Regions from separate parts of the Homo sapiens genome. Here regions 2, 3 and 4 are each linked to region 1. The links are contacts of gene promoters, found by promoter capture Hi-C in blood cells and fetal thymus (Javierre and others, 2016). All regions are on one chromosome and are shown on one strand. Each heading gives the region's core, a stretch centred on a gene start or on the middle of the fragment in contact. The rest is flanking DNA. Distances are from core to core; before and after follow the strand shown. Region 1 holds the start of LRP12 (LDL receptor related protein 12). Region 2 overlaps ZFPM2 (zinc finger protein, FOG family member 2). Region 3 overlaps ZFPM2 (zinc finger protein, FOG family member 2). Region 4 overlaps ZFPM2 (zinc finger protein, FOG family member 2).

The links. The method cuts DNA at HindIII sites, captures the fragments that hold promoters and counts their contacts. A CHiCAGO score of 5 or more calls a contact.
Region 2: a fragment that was not itself captured here is called in contact with the fragment with the promoter of LRP12 in region 1 in 1 of 17 cell types (M2 macrophages); the score reaches 6.7 in M2 macrophages.
Region 3: a contact is called between a fragment that was not itself captured here and the fragment with the promoter of LRP12 in region 1, in 1 of 17 cell types (M1 macrophages). The highest score is 6.8, in M1 macrophages.
Region 4: a contact is called between a fragment that was not itself captured here and the fragment with the promoter of LRP12 in region 1, in 1 of 17 cell types (fetal thymus). The highest score is 7.7, in fetal thymus.

What each region holds. Positions count from the first base shown.
Region 1 is chr8:104,587,910-104,590,609 of GRCh38, reverse strand. It overlaps LRP12 (LDL receptor related protein 12), which reads left to right and starts at 1,352. Exons shown (of 7, transcript NM_013437.5): 1 at 1,352-1,791. The coding sequence starts at 1,713. RefSeq lists silencers at 1,314-1,653, 2,084-2,193. The HindIII fragment of the contact is 14,799 bases long and covers 1-2,700 here.
Region 2 is chr8:105,763,443-105,766,142 of GRCh38, reverse strand. The region is part of intron 5 of ZFPM2 (zinc finger protein, FOG family member 2); the gene reads right to left. Among named protein-coding and RNA genes, the nearest start is that of ZFPM2-AS1, 300 kb to the left of the region's middle. The HindIII fragment of the contact is 1,589 bases long and covers 610-2,198 here.
Region 3 is chr8:105,730,187-105,732,886 of GRCh38, reverse strand. The region is part of intron 5 of ZFPM2 (zinc finger protein, FOG family member 2); the gene reads right to left. Among named protein-coding and RNA genes, the nearest start is that of ZFPM2-AS1, 330 kb to the left of the region's middle. The HindIII fragment of the contact is 1,321 bases long and covers 608-1,928 here.
Region 4 is chr8:105,798,302-105,801,001 of GRCh38, reverse strand. It overlaps ZFPM2 (zinc finger protein, FOG family member 2), which reads right to left. Exons shown (of 8, transcript NM_012082.4): 7 at 2,054-2,278. It overlaps ZFPM2-AS1 (ZFPM2 antisense RNA 1), which reads left to right. Exons shown (of 5, transcript NR_125797.1): 3 at 2,560-2,677. Among named protein-coding and RNA genes, the nearest start is that of ZFPM2-AS1, 260 kb to the left of the region's middle. The HindIII fragment of the contact is 354 bases long and covers 1,096-1,449 here.

The DNA.
Region 1 (2,700 bases), core at 103-2,602:
ATCGCAGGGAGGATTGAAAGAGGGGCACTCCGATAGGACAGAAATGGAACATGGGAGGGGACCACAAGGGAATAAAAGCTGGCCACCACCAGCCAGCACCTGGGGTTCTCTTCCATGCTGTGGAAGCTGTCCTTTTGCTCTTCGCAATAAACCTTGCTACCGCTCACTCTTTGAGTCCGTGCCATCTTTAAGAGCTGTTAACAGTCACCGGGAAGGTCTGCAGCTTCATTCTTGAAGTCAGGGAGACCACGAACCCCCTGGCAGGCACCAACTCCGACACATTACTAGGCGCTAAGCATTGTGCTAGAGAGTTTGCTGTGGTATAGGGGCAACAATCTTTACTTTGGAATGAGAAAAACTGTTTCAAACAACTTACTTGCCATGAGTAATTTAATTTCTCTCTTTTCTATAAAACATGGGTAATATTTATCTCACAAGGATGTTTGGGATTAAAAAGTGACAACCTATGTCAATAGGACAGCATGATGCAGTGTAGGTCTTCAATGAATAGCATGGAGAGTGCTTGCAAAGGGCAACGATAAAATCTAATATAAATAAGACGTTGTAGACAAACGCTTTAAAAACACAGGGGGTAAGGTCTGATGTGCCAGCGTCACTACAGACGTACTTAGAAAAGTGTTCTGGGGATCTAAGTAAAGGAGGACTCCCATTTGCTGGGAGTGAGAAAAGAGCTTTAGGGAAACTGCAGCGTGATGGGCGAATCCTCCTTTCAATATATCTACCCTGAAAGTCGGCTCCAGCCCTGCCGAACATCCTGGCCCAGCTGCACCCGACCCAGCGTGAGATGTCAAATGACCTCTTGGCGCTTCCACGCCAGACTGGAGGGGCTCTGCACAAGCCTTGCCCGACTCATTCCGGGCACCTTGAGCGTGGGAGTCCACACTGCCCCTTGACCGACCAGCTGCCAGGTTGGCCGCACTAACTTGAGCCCACCCCCACTCGAAGCTCCGCGCCGACAGCAAGTGGAGACTTGGGGGTACCGGATAGAGGAAGGAACTCCCAAGTTGTCAGCTTCAGACCATCCACGCCTCCCCCAACACGGAACCACCTTCAGCCTCCCAGCTGGTATCCCACCCCCCCTCCCCCCACCCGCTGGGCCAGAGCCCAGCCCTCGGACAGCGACCGTGCTCCTCCACACACCCCGCGCTCCAGCCCCTGGGCATCCAGCAGCCGGCGTTCGCACGCTCTGTCATCGATTGGCGCTGCCTTGCTCCTTGGGCTCCCGTCGCGTGGAAATCGGCCCGAAACTTGGAAAGTCCAGCGGAGCGCGGGGAGGGAACCGAGGCAGGCGGGCCAGGGGATTGCCGATCGCACGGATGGGCGCGCGCTCAGTCTGGCGAGTGGCGGCGCCGGCTAGCCCGAGCGGCGCGAGGCCGGAGTCCGGCGTCCGCCACCCTCTCGTCTCGCGCTGGCGCGCGAGCTCCTTGCCCTTGCCCCCAGGAGGGCCGCCCCGCGTGGGGCTCTCGCACCGCCCGGGGTGGGAGCAGGCGAGCCGGAGGGAGGAGGGAGGAGGGAGCGCGCGCGGGCGGCGGCGGCCCCTCCCTTCCCCCTCCCGCAGCCGCGGAGAGCGCAGGGAGCAGCCGGTGGCTCGGCGGCGGCGGCGGCGGCGGCGGCGGCGTCGGCGTCGTCTACCTCCAGCTTCTCCTCCCTCCTCCTCCGTCTCCTCCTCTCTCTCTCCATCTGCTGTGGTTATGGCCTGTCGCTGGAGCACAAAAGAGTCTCCGCGGTGGAGGTCTGCGTTGCTCTTGCTTTTCCTCGCTGGGGTGTACGGTAAGTGTCCGCGTCCCCGCGCCCCGCTGACCGAACAAAGCTGAGGCGACCCGGGCCCCGAGGCCTCCAGGACGGGGGTTCCCCTGGAGACTCCCGCGGAGACCCTGGCTACCGGCGGGACAAAGACCGGTGAGGGGGTGGATGTGGCGGAACGGGTGTCCCCACACGGAGATGCTTTTCTCCACTCGTCCACCTCCAGACCCTCGGGTGGTGGAGAGGGGCTGGGGGGCCCGGCCGGGAGGGCCCCGGCGGAGCGAGGGGGTGGCGGGCGGACTTCCCGACCTGGGTTCGAGGGCCCCCGCGGCCAGTTGCTCCAGGACCCGTAGCCTGGCACAATCCACACACAAAGATGCTTGACTGTGAGAAAGCAGAGGAGCTCGCCCCCGCCGCTGCCGGGACGGTCCTTCCCCCCGCCCCCTCAACCCGGGGTTAGGAAGTTCTCTCACCGGCGAGATTCCCACCGCGCCAGCCCTTGTCCTACTCGATTCCCTGAAAAGGCTTCCCGCTGACTTCTCCCCACTCCACCTCGGGGGCAAGGGCTCTGCCGAATCCGGGCGTGCAGGGTCCTGTTGGTTCCCCGGGAGCAGCACGCGGGAGAAGGCCAGAAAATAGTTTCCAGCCCCACCTCAGTCTCTCCTGTTAGGGTGTACACATCTGTCCTGACTCCTAGTTCAATTGTAATTTCATCCATCCTCGTCCGCCGCTGTGGTCACTGTTACTTTATTCCAGTCGATGGATCGGGTTAGAGATAACTCCTTTCGGGTTAAGAGAAGGCTGAAGACTGTGCGGACAGCTTTATATTGCGTTGGGGTCTGAGCAAGAGCTGAATGGAATTAATTGCAAAGAACATCTATCTCTTAAGATAATTAAGTTACACTTCTGACTTCACCGTTCTTAGTTCATCAGTTA
Region 2 (2,700 bases), core at 155-2,654, 1.2 Mb before region 1:
CTCATTCTCCCTCCATGCTCTGCACTTTAATCCCTTCTTTTACTCAAAATAGATAAAACTATGAAGATAAAGGCCATAAAGATAAATACAACACTCAAACCACATAACAGAGTATAGTTTTAAATCACTGACTGTTTTCACATTCAGTTTAACCAGCGAGATTTTAGCTAAATTTTTACTTATTGTTGAGTAAACTACATGAGGCCCCTTGAAAAACAATTTCCAGAAATGCCAGTGACAAATTATTAAAGTACAAATTAGAGGACAAAAATATTTGCCAAAAATTTCAGAAACAAGAGGCCACTTGGCATACCATTTTCTTTTCCTATTGTAAAACCTATCTATCTGCTGTATAAAGAGCATATTAACTTATTGAACCGATTGCTAGAAGTAAGTCAGAGAACCTTGAAAATATGTTACTATTACAAAATGCCTTAAAATGCTAAACAAAATAATGGCATGAAATAGGGATTTGGGGACGAGCTGCCTGATAACTCTCAAAAACGAATTATGCTGCATTTTCCAACCTCCATAGAGAAGGGCATGCTTCTCTTCGGATTTCTTCTACCATTTGGTGCAACACTCACTTTGGCTATATTCATACAAGCTTCATTAGAGAAGTAAAATGCAATTGTCTCCAGAGATCAAAGGACAATCTATTAAATAAAGCGACTGGAACTCTAGAATGAAATAATATGAAAAGTTAGAATTTTACGGTGAATCAAAATGTAAATTGTACTGGCATACTGTGGCTAAATGCAGAACTGAAGATCAGCTTTATTAAGGGGAAATTGACAGTGGCTTGAATGATATGAAAAAATATGAAAAGAAATATGGATTCTAAACAACCCATTTTACGTACTAGATTAAAACTAGTATTTGTGCTATTTTACAAAATTTAAAAGCACTGGTAGTTAACTAGGATTTTACTAAGAAATATAGAACCCCCAAATGATAAGTACTGTGATTTTTACAGCAAAATTCATATTAAATGATTCAGGACCTCTAAAGGATAGTTTATGCTAAAATAAAAACAAAATAAAGCCTGTTATCAACTATGTTCAGTGGGGGAAATAAAGTGACATATTGTACACTGACCACGTGGTCCTGAAATCTAAGAATTTTGCTCTTAAATGAAACAGAGGACTTAGTACTAACTGTTTTAAATCAAAGGTCATTATGAATTCTGAAAGCTAGAGCCCATGTTTGCCTGAAGGAAAGGAAGAGAGGTGGAGACAGGTAAATCAAACTTCTCTGCACACTAGGGGTTCTGAATTGGACTTCTTTTCAAATGCTTATCAAATACTTGGTGTTTTTTCTTCTAAATGAAAATGACAGATTCTAAAACACCTTACTGTGTATTTCAGTACATTACATCACTTAAGTCATTTACAAAATTGTATAAAATTACCCTGAAATCGCATCAAGTATAGCAATGAACCATGAAACTAAAAGAAAAAAAAATCATGAAAAAACACATTTCACTTTGCAAGGGAAATATAATCGAGTCAAGGTCTAAGAATGAAACAGTTACTCCTTTCACATTCTTGAATACAATCAAACTTATTACAACATTTTTTGAATCCATGGAAGATTTTTTTTTCTAAAAAGAAAACACTGACTAAATAAAAGTATTGATTCAGTGAATTATTGAAAAACGGAAGTAAAAAAGTCATAATAAGGATAATAGAAAATATCTATTAACATTCTACTGAAAATAGAAGAAAATTTTCTATAAAAATCCTGAGTGTATTCAGCAAACATTGCTTCTGCAAATTAATTTTTGGAATAATTTGATTTTGAGTATTTCCAAATATGTGTGTGTGTGTGTGTGTGTGTGTGTGTGTGTGTGTGTCAGAGAGAGAGAGAGAGAAAGAGAGAGAGAGTTTTAAACCTTGATCTAGCTTTACCACCAAAATCCTACAATTTTAAAGTTTGGTTCATGTATCACAAGGCAATTAATTGCACTTCTATCTATTCCCTGGGTTTCATGATTATAGTTCTAAAGGATCAAAGAGAGTCCTGGATACTTACCAATTAATCTTTAAATGACTGGAAAAACACAACAGGCTGAAAATGTGGTCAATAAAATAAATATCCTACTCAAGTTGTAGTATGCTCCCATTTCCAGATCCTGAAAGTAATTAGTTTACTATTCAGTTTCTGGGAAGAGCAGATTTTCTGCATTAATAAAAGCTTCTCTGCTATGCTAATTGGCTGCTGGGTAGGTAGGCTCTACATGTTCTTAGGACCATGATGTTTATGATCCCATCTTTTTTTAGATATGAAAAACAGCTTCCAAACCCTTAGTAAATCACCAAGCCCACTTATGATCTTACTCCATTTGCCAGGCTACTAAAGATAATCATCCCCATATAATGCAAAGAAGTGGCCTTTTAAAAATCAGACAGATCTGGGTAAGGAACTCAACTATAAATATTTAGCATCTATGTGACCTTGGACAATCTACTTAATCCTTCTGAGACACAGTTTCCTCATCTGGAAAATGGGGATTATCCTGTGTATTGGAAGATGATTGTTGTATAAGATCACTTTACATGAAGGACATAGCACAAGGTTGAACACAGAATAGTCACTTCAAAAATGTTAGTTCTACTCTCTTCTCATAATTATTTACTTGGAATGGCAAGAACTCTTTCCTGGAAGCTTTAACTAGGGCAGATTGTAAAAAATCACCTG
Region 3 (2,700 bases), core at 19-2,518, 1.1 Mb before region 1:
TTTTGGTATCAAAGATAATGAACGTGCAAGCTGAAAGTTAATTTCCCTCTCCTAGGATGAATTTTTTCTCCATAAACGTTTAATCATAAAGGAATCATTAGAACTGCAATGCTTCAGTCCAATGTCTTTACCGCCCATTGCTCCAGTAGCTTAGTCAGACCTCCCTAGATTACTGTAATTTACAAAATGAATAAAAAGTATGAAGGCTTTGTTCAGATTTTCAATGCACCATTAATACACTGTTAGAAATTGGTTCCAAAAATGAAATTGCTAAATTCTGGAAGATTTGATGTCTTCTCCTAATGAGAAGCAACATCCCTCACTTGCTAAAGGATCCAGACTTTTCTGATAGAGACTTGGGCTGTTTATTAATAATGAATTTGAATGTTCGCATGTGGAATGTTATCAGCTCACACACAATCCAACCAATAGTTAGCCCTGATGGGGGTAGCTGGGATCCTCATTAGCAGAACATATTTAATCCAGAAGTTTCTTATCAAATGTCACACCTGCATCTCTAAATGGCATTTTCACATTCATTCGCATGTATTTCGGAGATGAGGCTCCAAGGTGCTTTAAGGAGATTAAGAAGGAGAGAGTACAAGCTTATTTTATCATTTAGTGAGTCTGGAAAGAATCCAAGAAGTTTTTGTCTTGTTGTTGTAATTAGAAAGCCTTTTAAGTGATAACGTATGCATAGGAATATGAATATGTAGTGATCATACGAATGCTATTTCAAATAGGGGGACAGCTGCCATTTTTGTTGTAGGCAGAAAACATTAAATTACACTGTATAGTGGGGATTAACTTCAGAACTTTGGGAAAGGAACTAAACCCTCTCATATCTTTTTGCCACAGCCTACCAAAAACACTCAGCTCCATAAAGTTCATTTAGTATACCTTATTAGTAAAAGGTCACAATTCTCCATCAGTTATGCACTGTTTCATCATTCTTCCACACTTTGCTATTCAATAAACTAAGCAGGAAGATACAAGCAACAAACAGACATCTTAGCTTAAATAGTTCTTATTAGTTGCAACACTTATTCATATGACATCATTTTCCTTTGATTTTCAAAATGATTTGTCATCATGGTACAAACATGCAAAGTGATTTTTTAAAATCTGGACATTAAATTACAATACATTCTGAAAATTGAACTTACAACAAATTCCTTTAGATTTCATGAATAGTGTCTCTTTTGATTGTTCATTCATCATTTTTTGGAGGTTGAAGCTCCCCCTCTATATTATAAACTTTCTATTTACAGTAATCATAAGATGTTAACCTAGCAACAAAGTTCGCTCAGAAACTTTTAGTTCATTCAATTCATTATTATATGTGGAATACAAATATGTCTTACATGTAGAAGGACATATGAGCCCTAACTTCTATGTAACACAATCCAGAGACTGTTCATTGTGCCTTTCAATTCAATGCAATATTTCTTTTCTGCTTATCCAAATAGCACAGATATTATAGCATGCTTCCTTCTCGTTGATTTTCAAGAGTTTTAACCTTGAATAGTGTAATCACAATGGGCAAATATTGTTTTATCAAGCAGAGGAAACTGTATAGTATGGTACAAGGAAATCCAAGCAGGATTTGGCATGGAGTGGAAAAAGGAGAAGTGGTTTCACTTTCTTTTTGAAAAAAAATAAGGGAAAGGACAAGGGAGAACACACTACAATTCATAACTTGGTGGTTTTTATCCTGCTTTCAGGTCACTGGAGTTTGCCCCATGAAAAAGGAATTGTGGATCTGAAGCCTAAATAACTTCAGCAATCCACATGTAAGTGAACAGCAACAATCATTTTTTTCAGTTTTATTTTGCTCTCTCAGTGTTCATATCTACAAAAGCCTCTAACCAGTAGTCAAGATAAGTGTTGAACTGAGAAGTATTGATCCAGTAATAGCAGTTCAAGCTTTGACTGTGAGTCCTTAACCCTCCAGACATAATGTCATAGCCTCTTATCCTTGCCTCTTAACATTACCTGCCTATCTCTGCAGAGCTGTCACCTATGGTAATACAGTTCCAAACGCTTTCTAATCATTACTCATTCAGGCAGCATTCATTCTGTAGCCAGTAAAAAAAAAAAAAAAAAAAAAGAAAAAAGAAAAAGTTCAGGTGTCGCTTTGACTTCTAGACAGAACGAGGTGTTTTCTTCTACGGTTTCCTTCAGGCCTTTAATATACTGTGTGTATTAAAATATGCCATCCTAAAAAGAAGCCATTAAAATAATGTCCAGAAGAGGCATTAAGAGAGTTAAGCCATCAGGAACACGTGGCAATCCACTCTGAACAACGTAAAGAGACCACTGGGGTTAGGGAAGACTTTATTCTCAGCAGCAATCCCTCGCTGGAGCAAAGAGCTCAGAGTAAACAACTTTGTGCATGTAAAATCTATCAGTAAGGCAGAACCAGGTGATGGGAGGTGATTGGCATCACTGAACTGAAGGCAGAAATAGCACTTGGTGGACAAAGGTATTGGGAGTAGCAGTGGGACCTAAATATGAGTAGCGTGGAATTAAATAGTCCAATAGTAACAAGAAGTCTACATGTTATGAGTTTCTGTCTTTGATTGGCTGGGCTTTCAATATCAAAACTGTCTTACTTTCATGCATGCATGAGAAATATTATTTCATTCCTGGACACTGCATGTTCTCCTATAAGCCAGAGCATTGTAAATGACACTGTGG
Region 4 (2,700 bases), core at 23-2,522, 1.2 Mb before region 1:
GTTTTTGAATGACAGGGACCTTTTCTAATGACCTAATGTTTGCAACACAATAGGAATGAAATCTTTCAAAATTTCATTCGTGATATTAACTGTTTTCTTGTGACATCTCTTACTGTGTATGATAATATTAATAGCACTTTATAGTTTTCAAAGTACTTTCATGAATATTATGGCATCAAAGTGGAATAAGTGTCAGTGTCTCCATTTTATAGATGAGGAAACACGCTGAAGGAGGCTAAAGGAATTGATTATGTTAATAAAGCTATTAAGTGATGAAGCCATGCCTAAGCCTTGGATTTTATAATTACTAATCTAATAACCTCACTATAACATTAGCCTCTACATTAGGAATAAGTGAGCATTCATTAGGGTTGCTATTGAAAACAATGCAAATCAAATAACTCTCAGTACACTACATATAGGTTATATTCTAAAGAGGCCAAATAGAAACCATTTTGTAAAGTAATTAATATAATCTTAATTTATATTAATATAAATTTAAAATTTTATGCAGTAGTTTTGCTGAACATAGTTTATCTCTATCCAGGGCTGATATTTAGCTGGTAGACTAATATAGTCTACCAGTACACTAATATAGTCATTTTGCATTGGCATCCATGCTGATTGATCACTGCCTATTTCTAGTCCATGATTAAATATTTTGAATATTACCATTGACTGTGGTGGGTAAGCATCACTAAGATTGACTCTAGCTCCCATTGGTCAGCATATGGTAAAATCAGGCTTGGCTTATCCCCTCTGTACTCTGGACTAGAATAAGACTGCCTTTTATATTCATAAGCTGAAAACATGGCAGAGGTACCTAGTCCTGTAGTCATAAAAGGGGACTACCTATCCTTGTCTCTTTTTCTCCTTAATGAATCTAATACTCATTTTTTTTTCCATTTAGCTTAAAGGACCCCTGTATTCTGTTCTTTTTGTTTTGTACATGACCTTACTCACCATCTGAGACAACCAATATGTTTCTGCTTCCCCTGCTTTATTATCTATATGAAGATAGCTCATTTGTAAGGAGAGGAAAGAGGATGAGCAGAAAGGAAATGACCTACTTTTACAGGTTCAAAGACAAAAGCTTGAACTGTACTAGAGCACTGGAGGTTAGAACAGTAGCTTAAAACTCAACATGTGTTTCCATTTTAAAATTATTTAATCTAGGCAAAGACCACTAAGAAAGTCACCCAGAGGTGTCCTACAAGGTTTGTATTATAGGTGCTGAAAAACTATGATTCTCAGTCCCTAGTTTGTCCCATGTAAGAATGTACCTAAAATTATTTAAAGTTAATAGAATTCTGTACATTTGAATAAATTCATTTTTTAAAAAATATGATAATTAGAATGCTATGAAATGAAACTAAAAATAGCTGGCATACAATTCCAAATTAAATAGAAACAGTTGCCACCTTGCTATTGAGAGGGCCTTAAAAAGCTTATTTGTTTTTCAGCCTATTTTTTTCTTAAGGGATTTTAAAACATAGTACTAAAAGTAGTTTAATGTCATAAAAACCACCTAAGCTGTTATGATGCATCTTTTGGAAGTCAGAAATATTTTACTGATCCATATTTAAAAGTAAACATCCCTGAACTGTAATTTTAATTAGATCTATCAATAGAGTAGCTTTATTTCAATTCAGCACACACTTATATTTATGTACCTATTATTTCTTCCCTACCATATAGGAAACACTATGATCAGTTTCCAAAGATTGCTTGACACTAAAGCAATAAATGGCAATATTCAAAGGGTATTGAGATTTTCTTTTTAAAATAATGTGCTTTTTTAAAACCTCAGTTGAGAACAAATAGAATGATTTGGCCTCTGAATTTGTAAGAAAAGAATTCAGACCCAAGTCCTTTGAGTAACATATGCTGAGTATAAGTGGCATAAGATCACACTGGTTGACCCAGAAAGTTTGATTTTGATGTTATAGATAGCTACAGATAGACAGATATAGACGTATACATGTAATGCATATATATTTATAAAAATAACAGAGTCTTCTGGAGCAACAGAAGAAACAAAAGGGGCATTTACCACTGTGTGAATTCAGGTGCATTTCTAGAGCTCGAGCATTTGAAAAGCTCTTGGTGCACTGTGGGAAGGGGCACAGGCTGGAAATCTGATGGGCACTGTCTTCATTTTCCTCTGACACCGGAGCAGCTTCTCTTTGCCTCCCACTGCAGTAGTACATCAAATGGGCCTGCAGATTCCGCTCACTCCGATACCAGATGCCACAGGACTTGCAAGGGAATATATCCTCTGCAGGTAAAAACACAAGAGACACATTTGCTGCTGTCCATTTGAAACCAACTGTGGGTAAAGCAGCATTTAGTTCAATTTTTCTCAGACTCCGCTCTCAGGTTCTTAATTGGGCAATCAGATGAGTAACAGTCTTTGGTGTTGTTCTACAGCATAGGACTCGACTTTTAAAGAAATGTTGTACTCTGCAATTTAACTTCCCACAGACTCTAGAGAAAGAGGAGACTCCAACATTTAAAACACAAGATATTGATTTTATTTTATTTTATTTTTTGCGACAGATTCTCACTGTGTTACCTAGGCTGCAGTGCAGTGGTGCGATCTCAACTCACTGCAACCTCTACCTCCTGGGTTCAAGCAATTCTCCTGCCTCAGCCTCCCAAGTAGCTGGGATTACAGGTGAGTGCCACCACGCCTGGCTA